Linked DNA regions of Homo sapiens: region 2 is linked to region 1. The links are contacts of gene promoters, found by promoter capture Hi-C in human tissues and cell types (Jung and others, 2019). All regions are on one chromosome and are shown on one strand. The core of a region is centred on a gene start or on the middle of the fragment in contact, and the rest is flanking DNA. Distances in the headings are between cores, read along the strand shown. Region 1 holds the start of ASB17 (ankyrin repeat and SOCS box containing 17). Region 2 overlaps LOC105378806 (a long non-coding RNA gene).

Evidence for each region. Contacts are between HindIII fragments. The study calls those that stand out against the background at their distance.
Region 2: a contact is called between a fragment that was not itself captured here and the fragment with the promoter of ASB17 in region 1, in 1 of the 25 tissues and cell types used here (H1 embryonic stem cells).

The regions. Positions count from the first base shown.
Region 1 is chr1:75,930,926-75,934,128 of GRCh38, reverse strand. ASB17 (ankyrin repeat and SOCS box containing 17) reads left to right here and starts at 1,725. Exons shown (of 3, transcript NM_080868.3): 1 at 1,725-2,238. The coding sequence starts at 1,838. The HindIII fragment of the contact is 7,737 bases long and covers 748-3,203 here.
Region 2 is chr1:75,969,866-75,973,068 of GRCh38, reverse strand. All of the region lies in intron 2 of LOC105378806 (a long non-coding RNA gene), which reads left to right. Among named protein-coding and RNA genes, the nearest start is that of ASB17, 39 kb to the right of the region's middle. The HindIII fragment of the contact is 4,750 bases long and covers 1-3,203 here.

The DNA.
Region 1 (3,203 bases), core at 476-2,975:
CAGGGAGGAATTGTTGCTGGCTCTATAGTGTTTCAATTTTTTATAAGTTTTATGTATTGTATTAAGAAATCAGTAAAATAATTTAATTTAAAAAATATTTTTTGAGGCAAAAAAAGTAAAACAGAAAAAGTGAAAGAAAATGACAAAACTTGGTTTTCAGAAAGATGACAATATGTAGTTAGTTTAATTAGGTTGTCCAGCTGGGAAAAGACAGTTTAGAGTTTACAAAATAAAATGCAATATTAGTAGATGTATATTATAGTAAATCTAAAGTAATAATTTTTTCTTACTAAAGAGACATCATTCACATGATTTAAATAAAAATATGCCAAAGGAAAAAGAATATATTTAATTACCTTTAAAAACGCTAATACATACATCCAAGGTTGTTAAGACTGATCACTCTGTGAATAGTATAAAAAGGTGGCTGAAACATTAACTACAGAATAATGATAAAAACAACCATAACATCTTTCCCCTTTATTGTAGTGGGGCAAGGACACCATATCAAGCTTGAAGTACCTTTAATGTTCAAATTGTATACATTCTGCCTGGTTTATAGAGGAATAATTTCTGTAAAATTTAAAATTCTAAAAAAAGGTCAGATGCAGTGGCTCACGCCTGAAATCTCAACACTTTGGGAGGTCAAGGCAGGCGGATCATGAGGTCAGGAGTTCGAGGCCAGCCTGGCCAACATGGTGAAACCCTGTCTCTACTAAAATACAAAAATTATCCGGGCGTGGTGGTGTGCACCTGTAATCCCAGCTACTCAGGAGGCTGAGGCAGGAGAATTGCTTGAACCTGGGAGGTGGAGGTTGTAGTAAGCCGAGATCGCACCATTGCACTCCAGCCAAGGCAAAAGAGTAAGACACTGTCTCAACAACAAAAATCTAAAACAAAGTCTTTAAATTTTGGTTAATATTGTATGACATTCTTTCTCTTTGGGAATGAATATATTGGCAGGTTACTTAACCTATGTAAGCTTCAGTCAGGCACAGTGCCTCAAGCCTGTAATCCTAGCACTTTGGGAGGCTGAGGCAGGGAGATCACTTGAGCTCGGGAGTTCAAGACCAGCCTGGCCAACATGGCATAACTCTGTTTCTATAAAAAATACAAAAATTAGCCAGGCATGGCGGTGCATGCCTGTAGTCCCAGTTGTTTGGGAAGTTGAGGTGAGAGAAAGCTTGAGCCCAGGAGGTCAAGGCCGCAGTGAGCCATGATCGTACCACTGCACTCCAGCCTGGGTGACAGGGTGAGACCCTGTCTCAAACAACAAAAAAATTATCTGTGTAAGCCTCAATTTCCTCAACTACAAGATAGGGGAAATAATCAATGAGGATTAAGTGAGAGCATACAGTATTCATGCAGAACATGAGAACAACACTTGAATTTATTCACTCTAGCAATCATTGTCTGCTTACATAATAGCCTACAAAGGATAATCAATGTATTTATTACCATTATTTAGTCTACTGAAGAAACATGCAGAACTTGAGAAACCAGGCAGACTACCTTGAACTGAATTCTTAGAAAATTAAATATATTGTATCTTAGCTTTCACGTATGTCATTTCTGTCCAATATGTCTCTTTCAAATGTCACCAGTTACATACAATATCCCCTCTGACCTATGCTGGTGACCTCTACCTATTGTGGAGGAATCTCCACCTATTGTGATGTCATCCAGTACTTTATGGTAATATTTATTTTTTCTGGTTACAGTTTAAAGGGCACTTCTGTTTGTGGAGTAAAGCCTGCCACATTGTCAAAATATGTAACTGGAGGATTACAGTATGCTTACCTCTGATTTTATTTCTACAGTGCTGCTATAAGTAACAATGAGTAAATCTACTAAATTATGTGGTAAGACTTCTTGTCCAAGAAGCAATATATTCTGCAATCTCCTTGACAAAATTGTTAAAAGACCCTCCCTACAGTTTTTGGGTCAGTGGGGATATCACTGTTACGAACCAAGGATTTACAGATCACTGGCAAAAATTCTGAGGTATGTGGACTTGGATGGTTTTGACGCACTACTCACAGATTACATTGCATTTGTGGAAAAATCAGGATACCGTTTTGAAGTAAGTTTTAACCTCGACTTCACTGAAATATGTGTGAATACAATTCTGTACTGGGTTTTTGCCAGAAAAGGTAATCCTGACTTTGTGGAATTGCTTCTCAAGAAGACAAAAGACTATGTTCAAGACAGAAGTTGTAACCTGGCACTGATATGGAGGTAATAATTTCATATGTTTTCACTATAGAACAAGAAAATTTATCTTTACGAGAGTAGAGTGCTTCTTTTTTCTAAAACTCACATGTATAGTGGCTATATGTGAAGTAAGGAATTCTCACCTAATTGCTTGACCACGTGTTCACTCCTTCACTCTTTTATTATGTATTCCATTTTTATTTATATGTAAATTATTATGTACCAATAAATCATTAGTGATTCTGCTCTACACAGCTTACATGTTAGTGCTAAACAACATGTTTCTCTAACTAAACAAAGACACTATGTTGTGTAATACTATGATCTCCTATTTCTGCGAATCCTATGGTTTTATATTTATATATGTTTATAAGCTGACTTTCAAAGTACAATTGGGAACATGCACACATCTTCACATAGTAATACTTATTAAACACAATAGTTCCCTATTTGTGTGTTAAACATTTATAAATTAGACTCCAAATTCTCCAAATTTGAGCACAATGAAGGTCAAGTACCTGATGCTATCGATAATAGAACCAAATTTTTATAGTGTTCACATGTCAATCTACCTAATGCATACTACTGAGGATCTTATGAAAATCAAATCTCCAATGTATCCTCTTTTTAGAGTCCATAATATAGAATTTAAAGTTACCTAGTTTGCACTAACTTTAATTTATTCTTTCGTTTTAGATATTCATCTGAATAAAACATTCATGTGTTCATTCATTCAGCAAAATATTTATTAATCACATTACTATGTATGCAAGTCTGTACTAGGTGCAATATAAATGCATGTATGCAATGAAAAACAAAATGGACAAGATCAGTTAAAGACTAAACCAATTTAGATTCTGCCTAAAGCAGAGTTTTTTCTTGATTGTGCATCCTATGGTATCGGAGAACCACTGGATTTCATTACTTAATGATTACTAAAGTACATGAACTGATAGCTGTAGTTTGGAAACAACAATAAACAAAACTAC
Region 2 (3,203 bases), core at 203-2,702, 39 kb before region 1:
GAACTCTTAGTCAAACTGATTACCACTTGCTCCTTAGTGAAAAAGAGATGAAATAGACCCAGTAGAGTTATTTGTAAATGCACAGAGATGGTAAAATATTTAAAATTTATGGAATCACAAAAATGCTTTAGTTCTCTGAAAAATTACCAGAGTTAAAGATCCCTGGCCAGGCACAGTGGCTCACGCCTGTAATCCCAGCACTTTAGGAGGCCGAGGCGGGCGGATCACGAGGTCAGGAGATTGAGACCATCCTGGCTAACACCGTGAAACCCCGTCTCTATTAAAAATACAAAAAATTAGCCAGGTGCGGTGGCGGGTGCCTGTAGTCCCAGCTACTCGGGAGGCTGAGACAGGAAAATGGCGTGAACCCGGGAGGTGGAGCTTGCAGTGAGCTGAGATCGAGCCACTGCACTCCAGCCTGGGCGACAGAGTGAGACTCCATCTCAAAAAAAAAAAAAAAAAGATCGCTTTGGGTATCCCCAAAGAAGACAACTAGGTAAGGAACACCTGATAGCACTGTTTCTCATGGTGTTTTGTTAACATCTTACATATGAATCACTAGGGTCCTTGTTAAAAATACAAATTCCTAGGCCCTACCATTGAAACCCACTGCTTTAGCAAATCTGTTTTAAGTAGCCTCTTTCTGTCTGTGTATACTAGATAATGTCTTGACTTTTCCTAGAGTTACATAACTCCCAACTCAGTAATGCCACAATCCCTTTAAATCAATAAAGGTTTAAGACCATTAACAATTTCTTAGGAGCTTATGCCCAAGCTAATATTTAAAAGGGACTTGTAATTACCTGGCCTTTAAGCAGGTATTCTTGGTGGACTGGCATAAGGAAGAACCTGTAATGGCCAATGAAATCAGTGTTTGAAATATCCCTTGGTATTATTGTCAAGAATATCAAGCACCAACCATGTGCTTATATTAACCATAATGCTAGTGTTAGGTACACAAAGGTGATAGTTTCATTTCTCAAGGAATTTTATAGGTACACAAATATATGAATATAGTTTATTCTCATTATTCATGAGAATCATATTCTATAAAGTCATTCCAAATGCTAAATTATCAAATATTGAACCACTGCTCCAAGGGGAAACATGGGGTTAAGTTCCTGTGAACCTCTGGTCACAAAATTTGTTTTGTCCACTGATCAGTATGTAACCTTGTTTTATGTGGCATTCTGTTTAAAGATACCTTATTTAATACATATTTTTGATTCACTGACATTGAATACAATGCTAGCCAACAGCATTAGACTTCGTGCCTAAGTGAAGCTTACCTAACACACATGTTCTTTTTAAGACACATCAGAGACTTTTTGCGGTTAGGCGCACTAGCCAGCACTTCAGCACTATCCTTGGGGGCCATTCTAGATGGGGAAATCACCAATGAAAAGCACAAAAATGTGACAATATGGCGCCAAACAGACCACAAAATAGATATATGTTCATAGTATGAGAGCTAAAGGAAGAAAACAGAGTGTCCCTTAATTTGATCTCAGCTGGGAATGTGTGTCAGGTGACATAAAATTTTTGCCATTATGCATACGTGTGTCTACAAATGACTAGGAAAGTGATGCAAGTATCAATTTAGGGGTTACAAATAAATTTTAGCAAGTAGGAAAATTCACAAATATGGAATCTGTGAATAATAAGGATTAACTGTATGTGCATTCATAATGTACTGCAATGGAAGCGTAACAGGGTACAATAGAAATGCAGGGAAAGAGAACTTAATGTAGTGGGTGGTAAAGCACAGAAGATGGAAAAGCTGTCAGAGAGGAAGTCATGCTTAAGCAAAAACTTGTGAAGTAAACATGAATTTGACCAATAGGCAAACAAGGAAAGGATATACCAGGAAGGGGAAACATGTGAGGAAAGAATACAAGGCAGAACAACCTGGTGAGGAAAGACCCTGAAAGGCTTCGTATGCCATGCTAAGGAGGTTAGATTTTATTTTTTGTAAATCGCAGGGGATGATATCCTGCTTAATTGAGTAGACTCTCTCAATTTGCATTTCTCTTCTATTAGCCACATTGCTTCTCCAACACCAAGTACTAGGAGAGTGTAAATGATTATTTTCAGAACTGCAATTGTTTGCCCTATCCCTTTTGTAATTTCTCCTACTTAAATTTCATTTCCTAAATATGGCTTGCCTGAAAGCTTCCTGTTATGATTTATTCACTGAGTAATTTCATATTTAGGAGATGATGTTTTTGCAATGTTTTGATTAGATGAGAATCTAATACATGAAACATGACATGAATCAGTATCTGTCTAATTCTCAGATAACTACAACTCTATCACATATACCAGTCAGAATGGCTATGATGTCTACTGCATGTCAGTTGCATGCTTTTGACTAAGCAGGGAAAAAATATCATCAAGGAAGAAGTTTCTGTGTATCTGGAGAAGGTAAACTATAAACCAATTCAAAGATGTGGCAAATTACCTGGCAGCCAACTGAGAAAAATTTGCATTACTGGGGGCTCTGTGGTTGTTGTTGGGGTAGTTTAGGAGCCTGGAGTCCTTTTTTCGCATTGCTAGCCTTAGACAGTGCTCAGGCAGGTTTGCCTTTTGTTCACCAAATGAAATTGCCACAGATACTTGGGTGATGAGATGTAGTTACCGGGCATCAGTACAGGCCACTGTCATCCATCACCTCTTTTATTACTATCATCTCCTATCTGCCTTCCCTTACTCTAGTCTCACTTCCTCTCCCATTCATTGCAAATTCATGCCAGAGTAGCCTTCTTCAAGTAGTGCTATACACTGGATTTTGATCCCTACAATTTATTTGTTGAAGCCCTAACCCTCAATGTGACTGTATTTAGAATAGGGCCTTCATGAAGGTAATTAAGATTAAATGAGAACATAAGGCTGGATCCATAAACAGATAGGATGGGGGTCCTTATAAGAAAAGGAAGAGCTCTCAGAGATCTCTCTGTGCACACACACAAAGAAAAGATCATGTGAGGATAGTGAGACAGTGGCAATATACATGCTAGGAAGAGCTGCAACACCAGATCCCAAACCTGATGGCACTTTGATCTTAGACTTCTAACCTCCAGAACTGTGAGAAAATAAACTTCTGTTGTTTAAGCCACTCAGCCTATGGTATTTTGTCATGGTAGCCTGAGCAGACTAATACAAGTTAGTATAGCCAACACATTACTCTCCAGCTTGCAGATCTG